Linked DNA regions of Homo sapiens: region 2 is linked to region 1. The links are contacts of gene promoters, found by promoter capture Hi-C in blood cells and fetal thymus (Javierre and others, 2016). All regions are on one chromosome and are shown on one strand. Each heading gives the region's core, a stretch centred on a gene start or on the middle of the fragment in contact. The rest is flanking DNA. Distances are from core to core; before and after follow the strand shown.

Region 1 (6,942 bases), core at 1,348-3,847:
GAGGTTGCAGTGAGCCGAGATTTCTTAGAAGGAATTGTTACTTATTGTTCTGAAGTGAAAGTCTGGTCTGATTCAGAAGAAATGTTACAACAACTTAAACACTGATGCTTTCAGAACGGGCAGCAATTCTCAGCGTAAATTCTGATCACAGGGACCAGCAAAATTGGTGAGTTGCATAGCTACAACATTCTGTGCCATCCAGGGCACTCTAGTTTGGGGATACAACTGCCAAACCTCCAACTAGAGAGTTTAGTTTAAGATTTAGTCAAGAAGCAGAAAGGTAAAGGTGACAATGTGTAGTAAACCATGATAGATGTTATAAAAGGTGGAATACTTGTACTGGAAATGCATACAGCGCCTCATCCCCTCTTGAGGGGTCAGGAAGTTTTCACACTAATGATGATGGTGATGAGATGATGTAACAGCTAAAGTTTTGGAGGCATTCACTATTGCTAGGCACTGTATCAGCATATAACATGGCTTATCTTACTCAGTTTTCACAATAAAAGGGTTATGAGATGGGAACTATTATTACTATCTTGATTTTTACAAATGAGAAAACAGGAGTAGACATTAAGGAATTTACTCAAGATCACAGCCAACCAATGCACTGAGCTGGACAAGGTCAACTTGGGGGTGAAGGGCATATGTGTTGCTCCAAGTGTGTCAGTATAAGAGAGATTAGGGTGAGGTTTTATGCAGAGTTTGGGCTTCAGCTGAGTAATTCTAAGGAGGGATTAGGGGAAGGAAGGCAGTTTAGTAATTGAGTATCTCAGAAACTTTAATTTGGAGGAGAACGGAACAAAGGTAGGCCAAGGAAGCTATTCAATCACTCAAAAGATAGAGGTTATTAGTCATTTTACAGCTGTAATGCATCCTTGTGAGGAACATTTTTTGCTTGGCCTTGTCCCTGGCCTTGTATGTGTACATTACAGTCTGATTATTAGTTGGGATGATTTTTAGTTTCTCAATCCCTACTCTCATTGCCCCAGTTTAATTCCTCAACACCTCTCACCTAGATTATTGTGATACTCTAGTTTTATCTTTTAAATCCTTTATATTGCAAAGCAGAGTGATTTACCTAAAACACAAACACAACCACAATAAGCCTCTATTTAAAAAGCTTTCAACGGTTCACTGTTGTCTCTACAGAATGTAAACAGAGCGTCTTAACATGGCACACCAGGCCCTCCTTAACCTAGCCCTCCCAGCCCATCACAACAACTATATTCCTTGATATTCTCGAATTGCACTTTATTTTGTTTTGTTTTTTTGAGACGGAGCCTTGCTCTGTTGCCCAGGCTGGAGGGCAGTGGTGCCATCTCGGCTCACTGCGGCCGCCACCTCCTGGGTTCAAGCAGTTCTCCTGTTTCAGCCTCCAGAGTAGCTGGGACTACAGGCATGTGCCACCACACCCGGCTAATTTTGTATTTTTAGTAGAGACGGGGTTTCACCATGTTGGCCAGGCTGACGAACTCCTGACCTCAGGTGATCCACCCGCCTAGGCCTCCCAAAGTGCTGGGATTACAGGCGTGAGCCGCTGCACCCAGCCTCGAACTGCACTTTAAATTGGATAGCTGGGCGGGCGTGGTGGCTCGCGCCTGTATTCCCAGCTACTCGGGAGGCTGAGGTGGAAGGATTGCTTGACCCCAGGAGGTCGAAGCTGCAGCGAGTCGTGATTGCGCCACTGCACTCCAACCTGGGTGAAAGACAAGACCCTGTCTCTAATATATAAGAAATGAATAAATAAATAAATTCGATTGCCAAAATTCTTGCTGTTCCCAGCATATTCCACTTTCACCTTTCAGCGCCTTTGCTTATGCTGATCTGACTGTAACTGCATTCCCACCCTTCTCCTTCTGGGTAAAGGGCATCTTCTTTCCAAACTCAACTCTTAGCATCAGAAAGCTGTCCCTGATACTGCAGTTGAGTCGCATGTGATACTGAAAAAAAAAGAAAAAAGGAAAAAAAAGAGAGCTCTCCCTGAATCCCTTGGTGGACTATGTTAGGTAAACTTCATCTTTGCCTGCATCATATTATGTATTGGTTCTTCTCTGCCCCCTCGATTGTAAACTCCTCAGGGGCAGAGGTAACAGCTTTGCAGCCCTGGGAGTTAGGTTTGCTTAAGGGACCAGAACAGGTGTGACTGGCAGGGAGCGAAGTCTGGAGCTTTGTCTGAGGCGCTGATAGGTGGATCGGCGGAAGGACGCGGAACCTGGACAGGTCGGAAATAAAGCCGGGCGAGCAGCTCTGTGCGCGATGTGACTTCATGAGTGGATGCTGAGAAAAGCGGCAGAGTACGACTTTAACCGCCTAGCCACAACACGTCCTGCTAGGGCGAGGAGGGAGACAGTGATACAGCACTGGGCAAGTGCTGAAGCGACAATTACTTCTAGGGCGGGGTAAAAGCCCCAGAGTATTTTTGCTGGAAGGAGGTATTTATTTGAGCAGGGTTCTGGAAGACGAGCCGCCGAAGGGTACCTCCGGCTTTCCGTTTCAAGTCCCACGCTGGTGGAGGTTGCTCGGTACCCGCGCCTGCGCGTGCCCGTCTCGACTCTTAGGCCCGCCCTTTCCTGCCAGACCTGGAGGGGCGGGGCGGTGCCGGCAAGATGGCTGCGCCCGAGAAGATGACGTTTCCCGAGAAACCAAGGTAAGCGCCGTACGGGGAGATGAGCAGGCGAGCGGGCCGATCGTGGGCATGGAGGATGTGGTGGCAGGAAGAAAAGAGAAGCTGGGCCAAGCTAAGTGAGCCACCGCGGCAGCTCCATTCCTTCCTGGTGCGCGCTCTGGTGCCCTCCCCGGACTTGCACGGGCGGCTGTGGCTCAGGCAAGCGAGGAGAGGATCAGGTTGGCGGATGGAGAAGAACTGTCTGGGAGTGGGAGGATGAGGCGATGATAGATGGCTGTTCTGTAATTAAAATACAGGAAGCAAGGTTTCTCTCCTCAGCACCCGAACTATTTCCTTTCATTGGGCACAGAGGAGCGGGGAGCTCGGGCAGCGCTGCATTGTAGCCGCTGATCGTCGTGTATATGTCTTAATCTTCCAGCCACAAAAAGTACAGGGCCGCCCTGAAGAAGGAGAAACGAAAGAAACGTCGGCAGGAACTTGCTCGACTGAGAGACTCAGGTGATGGACTCTTTATTCTGTTTTCTGTGTTGTGAAATTGCTCTGTCCACTCCAGCCCTAACTTGAAGCCCCAGTGTCAGAAGGAAGTCAAATATTGTGTCGGAGGAAAAATAGCTGTGACTTCTGCCCCCAAGTAGTTATTTAGAAACACATGTCAGAAACAATGTTAACATACTAAAGGCAGGAAGAGGAAGTCTTGGTGAATGATCGCCCACTGATTCTGTGTAACTTATAAAGTATCTAATATTACAGTTGCAAGCTTCATGAATTACAGCAGCTAGCACAGTCCTTGCACACGTAGTAAGTATTCGGTGAATGTTTTTCTTCGTAAAACCAGCAGGAGTTGAAGGTATTAATTAGACGTTTTGCAAGTTTTTCTCAAACTTGACTAATATGAGACCCTTGGTTTACCCAAATTATTATGTTATTCAAATATATATCAACATAATACTAGTTATGAAGCTCATTTATTTATTTTTGAGACAGGGTCTTGTTCTGTTGCCCAGGAGGGATGTGCACAACCACGGCTCACAGCAGCCTCCACCTCCCAGGCTCAAGCAGTCCTCCCACCTCAGCCTCCCTAGTAGCTGGGACTACAGGCATTCACCACCACACCTGGCTAATTTTTTCTTTTCTTTTCTTTTTTTTTTTTTTTTTTTTTGAGACGGAGTCTCGCTCTGTTGCCCAGGCTGGAGTGCAGTGGCACGATCTTGGCTCACTGCAGCCTCCGCCCCCTGGGTTCAAGCAGTTCTCCTGCTGCAGCCTCCCGAGTAGCTGGGATTACAGGCGTGCGCAACCACACCCGGCTAATTTTTGTATTTTTAGTAGAGATGGGGTGAAACCCCATCATGTTGGCCAGGCTGGTTTCGAACTTCTGACCTCAGGTGATCCACCCACCTCAGCCTCCCAAAGTGCTGGGATTAAAGGCGTGAGCTACCGCCCCTGGCCCACCTGGCTAATTTTTAAAATTTTCGTAGAGACGGGATTTCACTGTGTTGCCTGGGCTGGTCTCGAACTCCTGGCCTCAAGCAATCCTTCCACCTCGGCCTCCCAAAGTGCTGGGATTATAGGCATGAGCCACCACACCTGACCTGAAGCCATTGTTTGACTATAAAACAATATATGGGCTGGGCGCGTGGTGGCTCATGCCTGAAATCCCAGCACTTTGGAAAGCCGAGGCAGATGGATCACCTGAGGTCAGGGGTTCGAGACCTGCCTGGCCAACATGATGAAACCCTGCCTCTACTAAAAATACAAGATTAGCTGGGCTTGGTGGCAGGTGCCTGTAATCCCAGCTACTCAGGAGGCTGAGGCAAGAGGATCAGTTGAACCTGGGAGGCAGAGGTTGCAGTGAGCCGAGATCCTGCCACTGCACTTCAGTTTGGGCAACAGAGTGAGATTCTGTCTCAAAAAACAAACAAACAAATAAAAATACATTTATAAATTATAAAACTAAATGAAATTACACATTCGGTAAAATTTAAATCTACATCAGGTAATGCTAGGGATGATGTGAAACTAATGCTCCTCACAATATGTATATGGCACTGATGGGAGTTTGGAATGCCTCTACTAATGTTGCCTTATAGTTATTTACCACTTTTTCTATGAAATTACTGTAGAACCTTTATTTGTACAGATGGTCATTTGACCTTCACATGGCAAAACCTAACATTTATGTATTAAATCTACCTGCTTAATGCAATAAAATTAGGACTTAGTTATAAAATTATGTAGTAGTTATAAATCCAGATGGGAGCACTGAAATCACACAGTAGTACTGGCTTATAATGATTGTCATCCGCATTATCCAGAATATGCTCATGAAATTATCCTAGACAATTCTTAAAATCCAGAGACCATGGCCTCAAGTAACTAGGATTCTTGGACCTTGAGAAACATAGCCATAGAGGTTTTATTTACCATTGGTGTTCCTGAGTAATTATTTTAGTGTCAGTACTGGGATATTTAGAATGGAAGGAGCAGTGTGTTTAACTGCAACCTGTGTTAGCATTTCTGTCTTATTAGTTGAAAACTCATCCACTAGAGGCAGAACAAAGCATCAGGGATAAAAGGAAAAGTAGAATAGGTTGGAGTTATTGAGGCCCTTATTGTACTTCGTCTCTCCCCCCTTGAAATTTTCAGCTACTTTACTTTGTTCATTTAATCTGTTTTATTCTAAATATTATATATTCTAAATTTGTTTTAACTTCTTTCTCTTTTTCTTTTCCTGCACTAAATCCTATAACAGCTGGTATTTGTATTGTTTTGATTTTTTTTTTCCTTTTTACTTAGCAAAATGTGTTCAGAATGAGCCTCTGTGGAGAGTCAGGCGAGTCATGTCCCATGGTAGTTTAGCCCATTTTAATGGACTAAATCCAGGTCACTGGTCTGTCAAGATTATGTAACTAATGGCATATCCAAGACTAAGCACCTGTCTCTGCACTTCTGCTCCTACTTTTGCCCACTCCAACTCACAATTCTTTGCCTAGTGGTACTTCATGAATACTGTAGACTATGGAACACTCCTGGTTTTTTTTTTTGAGACAGAGTCTCACTCTCTCGCCCAGGCTGGAGTGCAATGGCACGATCTAGGCTCACTGTAACCTCTGCCTCCCAGGTTCAAGTGATTCTTCTGCCTCAGCCTCCTGAGTAGCTGGGATTACAGGTACCCACTATCATGCCCGGCTAATTCTTGTACTTTTGTAGAGATGGGGTTTCACCATGTTGGCCAGGCTGGTCTCAAACTCCTGATCTCAGGTGATCTGCCCACCTTGGCCTCCCAAAGTGCTGGGATTACAGGCGTGAGCCACTGCGCCCGGCCAGGAACACTGCTGTTTATTGTAGCACACGTTAGATGGGTAAACATTACCCAGAAGGCTAGAATGTTGAGTGTAACTATGAGAGTGCCTTGGCAAATGATTGGAGTGCCTTGGCAAATGATTTCTGGAATAGTGAGCTCTTAATTACAGATAGCTTCTTTGGCATCCATTCTACTTCAGATAACTGGAAACAAGCTACCTCGTCAGAAATTAAGATATTAAAAGCAAGTTGCAAAACTATAGCATGATTCTGTGTGTACAGTTACATGTACAGGTTGAGTATCCCTTATCTGAAATGCTTGCGTTGTATTTACCAGTTCAGCATCCCAAATCCAAAGATCCAAAATTCGAAATGCTCCAATGAGCATTTCCTTTGAGCATTGTTGTCACTCAAAATATTTCTCATTTTTGGATTTGGGGTGCTCAACCTGTATAATACCATTGGATATACATTTGATCCTTGAACAATGTGGGAGTTAGGGGACTCTGACCGCCCCCCGCCCCTCCCCACAGTGGAAAATTTGCATATAACTTTTCACTCCCCCAAAACTTACTATTAAGTGCCTGCTGTTGACTCTAAGCCTTACCAATAACATAAACAGTTGATTAACACATACTTTGTATGTTATATGTATTATATACCATATTCTTATAATAAAGTAAGCTAGAGAAAAGAATGTTACTAAGAAAATCCCGAGGAGGAGAAAATATATTTGCCCTTCATTAAATGGAAGTGGTTCATCATAAAGGTCTTCATTCTCCTTGTCTTAATGTTGAGTAGGCCGAGGAGGAAGAGGATGATTTGGTCTTGCTCTCTTGGGTGGCAGAGGTGGAAGAGGTGGAGGAGGTAGAAGGGAAGGCAAGAGGGTAGACGGCACTTGGTGTAACTTTGCAGAAATACATTATAATTTCTGTCTGACATTTTTGCTTTTTCATTTCTCTAAAAATGTTTCTATACAGTACCAATTCTTCCACCACTTGCTTTAGTTTAAA
Region 2 (6,942 bases), core at 2,392-4,891, 1.0 Mb after region 1:
GGGACAATTCCACTTGTTCTGGAGCTCAGTGGGTGGAGTTTGAAAAAGATTGCACAACGAACGGGGTACAGGGTTTTCGGGGCCCTGGAATGGATAATTGCGGGGACTGAGACTGGGAAGGTGGGAACCCCATCTCTTTTTTTCCTTGCAGGTGAACATACTGAAACGTTCGACTTGTTGGATATCTTGCTTGATCACCGAGGGCTATTTAATATTACTTAATTATGTATTTGAACACTCTTAACTCCTGTATGAAATTACGAAATAATATTTTTCTAATGCAATTCATAAACTTCAAATGGGAGAACAAAGGTCCAGTTTACGTCTGAGCAGAGTGTTAAGAATTAGCTTTTTGGGGCCTGTTTCTAAGGTCAGGTATTTTCATGTTTCTGCATGACAGTGTTACTACTTCTCAATTACCTCTCTTTCTTTCTCTCCCTCTCTTTGTATTCTAAAAGAAAGATCCAGTGCTTGCAGGACTGAAAAAGAAGCTGTGGACCAATGTCCTGTAAGGGATTCAACACCATCACTTTGGACACTTCACTTATTCCCTAAGGGTGGAGTGCCAATCTCAGTGTTTGATTTCGTAGGTTCCCCAGGGGAGGAGGACTCTGATAAAAAGCCACTGCAATTGAGGATATAAGTTCCCTTTTATGACACTGGGATAAGGACAAAAAGTCGTTGAATTAGGAACTGAGGTTTAATCAACTAGCATTTAAAATAACCAAGATAGGAGGTAATGACCCTTTGAGGTGCAGAGCTCTGGTTAACAGCTGGATAGGAATAGTCATGTGTGTGTCTACTCATTTTTGTTTATGTACCTCATACTCCATTCTTCTTTGCTTATGCTCTTCTGAGCATCTTTTTCTTTTTGATTTCTAACTGACAGTGACGGCATTCAAATACATGGTAAAATATTAATCTTTGAATTTTCATTTAACAAATTGGGTGAATTATCTTGTGTTTGCAAGAATCATTTTTAAGCCAGCTATGGTGGCATGCACCTGTAGTACCACCTAGTCAGGAGACTGAAGCAGGAGGCTAGCCTGGGCCGCAGAGTGAGACCCTGTCTCTTAAAAAAACAAACAAACTTGTTGTGTTTTTTTTTTTTTTTTTTGAGTCAGAGTCTTGCTCTGTTACCCAGGCTGCAGTGCAGTGATGCAATCTTGGCTCACTGCATCTTCCACCTCGTGGGTTCCAGCGATTCTCGTGCCTCAGCCTCCTGAGTAGCTGGGATTACAGATGTGTGCTACCACGCCCAGCTAATTTTTATATTTTTAGTAGAAACAGGGTTTCACCATGTTGGCCAGGCTGGTCTTGAACTCCTGGCCTCAGGTAAGCCACCCACCTTGGCCTTCCAAAGTGGCGGGATTACAGGCATGAGCCACTGCAACTGGCCAAAAATTTTTTTAAAAATCATTTTTACATTACTTCATTGTGTCCCTTAATTTTAAAATTTCTTTTGGGTCACTGACTTGAAAAAATATTTCTTAATTCCAGCTTAACTTCTATCCTTTTTTTCAGGAAGCAGAAATGTTTAATGAATTGAGTTTTTTGAAAATATTGAAAGAATTAAAAGAAAAGTGAGTGTTTTGTCATTATCTAGTTACATTATGGGACCTGAAGTGAGGAACAATTGGAGATGGGCTTTTTTGGTTCCTGGTTGCTTTAACCATCTGCCTAGTCACTCGCGACCTGCTCAGTTAATTGTGGCATTGTTTCATAACTACAACCATTTGAATGGTCTCTTGAGGTAACCTTTTGCTTCTAAAGGTAATGTTACAGTACATTACTAGGGGTCTCTTCAGGAATTTTCTAAAACTGTGCTGATAGTAGCCACTAGTGACATGTAGCTAAATTTGTTAACTAAAATTAAAATTAAAAATTTTTTTCTTCAGTTATACTAACCAAGTTTCAGGTATTCAGTAGCCAGTGTGGCTAGTGGCTACTGTATTAGAGCAGATCTAGAATATTTTCATCATTGCATAAAAATTTTATCAGCATTGGTCTAAAAAGATGAGTACACAATATCTAGTATGTCAGGCATTTTTTAGAACATCAGGCTCATTCGTTTTACTTCCTAAATCCCTATGTAGAATTTGCTTTATAAGGTTGATTTAAAAAAAAATTAATAGACTTTTTTTGGGAATGGTTTTTAGTTTTACAGAAAAATTGAGTAGAAAGTACAGTTTCCATATACCCCCTCACACACACCCTTTCCCCCTATTATTATTATTATTTTTGAGATGGGGTTTCGCTCTTGTTGCCCAGGCTAGAGTGCAATGGCATGATCTTGGCTCACCACAACCTCCGCCTCCCGGGTTCAAGCAATTCTCCTGCCTCAGCCTCCCAAGTAGCTGGGATTACAGGCATGTGCCACCACGCCCGGCTAATTTTTTTTGTATTTTTAGTAGAGACGGGGTTTCTCCATGTTGGTCAGGCTAGTCTCAAACTCCTGACCTCAGGTGATCTGCCCGCCTCGGCCTCCCAAAGTGCTGAGGTTACAGGTGTGAGCCACTGCGCCCGACCCTTATCCCCTATTATTTACATCTTGCATTAGTGTGATACTTGTGTTAAAATTCATGAGCCAATATTGCTATATTATTATTGACTAAGTCCATAGTTTACGTTAGGGTTCACTCTGGTGCTATATATTCTATGCATTTTGACAAATGTGTAGTGACATGGATCCACGATTATAGTATCACACAGAAGAGTTTCACAGTCCTATAAATCCCTTGTGCTCTACCTATTCATCCCTCTCTCCCTTCCCCTAGACTACTGACAGCCACTGATTTTATTTTTTTTAAATTTTAGAGTTGGGGGTCCTGCTATGTTGCCCAGGCTGGTCTTGAACTCCTAGGCTCAGGCGATCGTTCTGCCTTGGCCTCCCAAAGTGCTGGAATTATAAGTATGAGCCACCACACCTGGCCTGATCTTTTTACTGTCTCCATAGTTTTGCCTTTTCCAGCTTGTCTAAGGTTGGTATTTTTTTTCTTTACTAGATTTTTGCTTGGGAATGTTAAAAATTATTTAACTACTATTAAACTAATTTTTAGGTCCATAAACCATGTGGAAGGATAATACAAGGTACCTAGGCCCAAATTAACAAAATCTTGCATTTACATAATGCCCTGTAGTTTTTATGGCACATTTGCACATACATTAACTCTTTCAGCACCAGTCAGATGCTGTGGAGAAGGCTGGGCAGCTTTCACTGCCCTCATTTGCTGATGACAAGCTGCTCAACGATGTTAACTCACTTGCCTAAGGGGTGAAGCTGAGTCTGGAACCCAATACTCTTTCATCTATACTACAGTAATGAGTAGTGTAGTACTGGGTAAATCTATGGATTTTGGAGTTGGGACTCCTGGCTTTCTGCCGCCCATAGCTCTGCAACCTTGGGCAAGTTTCTCAATCTTTCTAAGCTTCAGTTGCATCATCTGTAAAGAGGGGATAATGCTCATACCTACCACAGGGGATTACTGTGAAGAAGGAGTTGATGGGACACATTTGGCACAGTGTGGGATATGTAGAATTTTACATGGTTTGGAGGGGAGGACATATGGAAGAGATTAATTTCTCTTGCATTTAGGGTGCTAATTTTGTAAATCCATCTTCCAACCTTTATATTCTCTCCTCTTCCCAGAATCTCTCCGTGATAGACATAATGAGGAGAAATCAGGTCAGGGTTGGGCAAGAGTATGGGGGCAGGAAAAAGCCATTTCATTAATCTTGTTTTTCTCCCCATTTGCCAACTTGATGAACTTCCACTCTTCTGGTACAGAGATTAAGTAATGAGAAGTAAAGTAAAGTGATCTTCTGCTTACACCATTGTTTTCTAATTGTATCACCAAGCTTTGGTAAATTTATTTTTTTCTTTTACTGGGATCAAATAGGACAAGCAGTAATGAGAACAAACCAGATACAGCATATTCTGCTATTCATGCCACATTTTCATATCATATTATGTCATATTTATTATGTTATTGGAACGTGTTTTATTTATTTATTTTTAATTTATTTTGTTTTTTTGAGATGGAGTCTTGTTCTGTAGCCCAGGCAGGAGTGCAATGGCGCAATCTCAGCTCACTGCAACCTCCACTTTCCGGGTTCAAGTGATTCTCCTGCATCAGCCTCCCGAGTAGCTGAGATTACAGGCATGCGCCACCAGGCCTGGCTAATTTTTGTATTTTTAGTAGAGATGGGGTTTCACCATGTTGGCCAGGCTGGTCTTGAACTCCTGACCTCAAGTGATCCACCTGCCTTGGCCTCCCAAAGTGCTGGAATTACAGGCATGAGCCACCGCGCCCTGCCTGGAAGGTGTTTTATGTTATTTTGTGTGTTATTTATATTGGTCTTGCCTAGAGAAGTTTTGTTTAGGAAGGTATATATCAAATCCAAATGACATAAAACTGCTTTTGTGGGATTCTTCACAAGATTCACTATAATGGGCTTCTATTAAATAGATATGCTGTCACAGTTTTACACTTCTCAGAGTTATGTTTCAAAGGAAAGAAATTTGGAGACCTCAAATTTCATTTGTGTTTCATGCACTGTGTTAGTCACTTAAGGTGTGAATGCATTCTAATATCTCCTTAACTCTGCAAGGTAGGTGGTATCCCCAGGTATATAGATAAGGCATCTGAGTCTTAGTCAGAAACAAACTTGCTTGAATAATAGAGCCCACAGTTGGTGACGTTTGCTAGGGTTAGTGTATAGTTGTGTAATTGATAGTATGACAGATGTCTTCTAATGCCCAGGAAGTTTCTGCTTACCTCGTTAAGTTTTAACTTAATACCTCAAGAAATCTGTTTGCCTGTTCCTCCTCTTCCTGCTGCCCTCCCCCTAATTCCTCTTGTTTGGTTCTAATGTGATTATGAATAACTTTTAGTTAATATAACGGGTGTGTCAGTATTTATAAAGTATGGGCCAGGCATGGTGGCTCATGCTTGTAATCCCAGTGCTTTGGGAGGCCGAGACGGGAGGACTGCTTGAGGCCAGGATTTTGAGACCCGCTTGGGCAACACAGGGAGACCCCGTCTCTATGAAGAATAAAAAACTTAGCTAGGCACATTGGTATGTGCCTGTAGTTCCAGCTACTTGGGAGGCTGAGGTGGAAGGATCACTTGAGTCCAGGAGGTCAAGGTTGCAGTGAGCCACGATTGGGCCACTGCTCTAGCCTGGGCAAGAGAGTGAGATCCTGTCTCTAAAAAATAATAATAATAATAAAAATAAAAAGTATAGGCCAGGCACAGTGGCTCATGCCTGTAATCCCAGCACTTTGGAAGGCCGAGGCAGGTGGATCACCTGAGGTCAGGAGTTCAAGACCAGCCTGGTCAACATGGTAAAACCCCATCTCTACTAAAAATACAAAAATTAGCTGGGCATGGTGATGCATGCCTGTAATCCCAGCTACTCGGGAGGCTGAGGCAGGAGAATCACTTGAACTTGGGAGGCGGATGTTGCTGTGAGCCAAGATCGTGCCATTATACTCCAGCCTGGGTGACATAGAGGGAGACTCCGTGTCAAAAAAAAAAAAAAGTATACAATAATATACAAATTTAATATCATATTCATCAACATTGAGATGGGACATTTCTAGAAGAGGGTAGAAATAGGTAAGGTGACCTTTAAGATCCATTAAGACCCTGGGAGTACATTTTTATGTTTGAATCTACCTCCTAGTTGAAATTCTGTTGGCACTTATAAATACTTACATTTTATTACTTGAAGGAAAAGATACATAAAATAACTGGTGTTTTCCTCCTATGCTATCAAAATAATTGTATTAGCATTTATTGCTTAGGGTGTTGATTTGCATTCTGTGTTGCATTTCCAAAACGTCCCTAGAATGACCTCTGTTATCTCCTACTTCCCACCTTATAGTCTGTCCTGAGTAATATTTACTGGCTACTTTTTTTTTTTTTCATGTTTCTTCTTTCCCTACTCTCAAGGTAGTAGAATGGTTTGGCAAGAAAGATGTGCCAGTAGCTTAGAAACTCATTTCTTTATGGGTCTTTTGGATTGCAAAATGGGCCATATTAAAAGTGAGAATGAATGCATTTTGTAAAATATCTTTTTTTTTTTTCTTTTTTTTTGAGACAGGATCTCCCTGTGTTGCCCAGGCTGGAGTGTAGTTAACGCTTATTGCAGCCTTGAACTCCTGGTCTCAAGTGATCTTCCTGCCTCAGCCTTCCTAGTAGCTAGGACTACAGGTGTGTGTGCCACCATGTCTGGCTGTTTTTTTTCTTTTTTTTGAGAGACAGGGTCTTCCTATGTTGCGCAGGCTGGTCTTAAACTCTTAGGCTCAAGCATGATTCTCCTGCCTTGGCCTCCCAAACTGCTGGGATTACAGGCGTGAGCCACTGCACGCAGCCTGTAAAATGTCTTCATTCAAATATTATAACAGTTCTGCTATGTGTCAGCAGTTTATATCTATCAGCAATTTATACCTATTATATCTACTTATGGCGCTAAGAAGGTAAGTACTGTACATCCCAGTTTACAGATAAGGAAACTGACAGGTTGGCCTCCCTATGGCCACACAGGAGATGCTAAGTGGTATATTCAGAGTTTCGGCTCTTTGGGCTCCAAAGCCATTGTCCATATTTCGTATCTCTCATGTTAACATTTCCTCAGATAGTAAAGGTCACATAAGTGCCCCTAGTTGAAAGTGAGCAAAACATGCTGGTAGATAAAATAGTAATAGTAATAGTTTTTGCTAAACGAAGACAAATTATGAGGGATGGAGTTGGATGATTAGGGGATATCGAAAATTGATTGTAATTTGGGGACCAGAGGAGTTTTGAGCCTCTTAATATCTTTTGCTTCATTCACCTAGGCCCTAGGTTAACCTTGAGATTTATGATTTAGGAGGTATGCCATGCTACAACTTCCTGCAACAGTACCTCCAAGTGTAATTTGAATAAATTGAAAGGT

Evidence for each region. Contacts are between HindIII fragments. The CHiCAGO score rates a contact against its expected background, and 5 or more counts as called.
Region 2: a contact is called between a fragment that was not itself captured here and the fragment with the promoter of ZRSR2 in region 1, in 5 of 17 cell types (total CD4 T cells, activated CD4 T cells, total CD8 T cells and 2 more). The highest score is 6.1, in total CD4 T cells.

The regions. Positions count from the first base shown.
Region 1 is chrX:15,787,887-15,794,828 of GRCh38, forward strand. ZRSR2 (zinc finger CCCH-type, RNA binding motif and serine/arginine rich 2) reads left to right here and starts at 2,598. Exons shown (of 11, transcript NM_005089.4): 1 at 2,598-2,650; 2 at 3,048-3,127. The coding sequence starts at 2,610. CA5B (carbonic anhydrase 5B) reads left to right here. Exons shown (of 8, transcript NM_007220.4): 8 at 1-525. It overlaps CA5BP1-CA5B (CA5BP1-CA5B readthrough), which reads left to right. Exons shown (of 12, transcript NR_160544.1): 12 at 1-525. RefSeq lists enhancers at 2,476-2,925, 3,584-4,085. The HindIII fragment of the contact is 2,263 bases long and covers 1,122-3,384 here.
Region 2 is chrX:16,787,569-16,794,510 of GRCh38, forward strand. The region is part of intron 1 of TXLNG (taxilin gamma); the gene reads left to right. Among named protein-coding and RNA genes, the nearest start is that of TXLNG, 4.6 kb to the left of the region's middle. RefSeq lists an enhancer at 1,240-1,740. The HindIII fragment of the contact is 430 bases long and covers 3,427-3,856 here.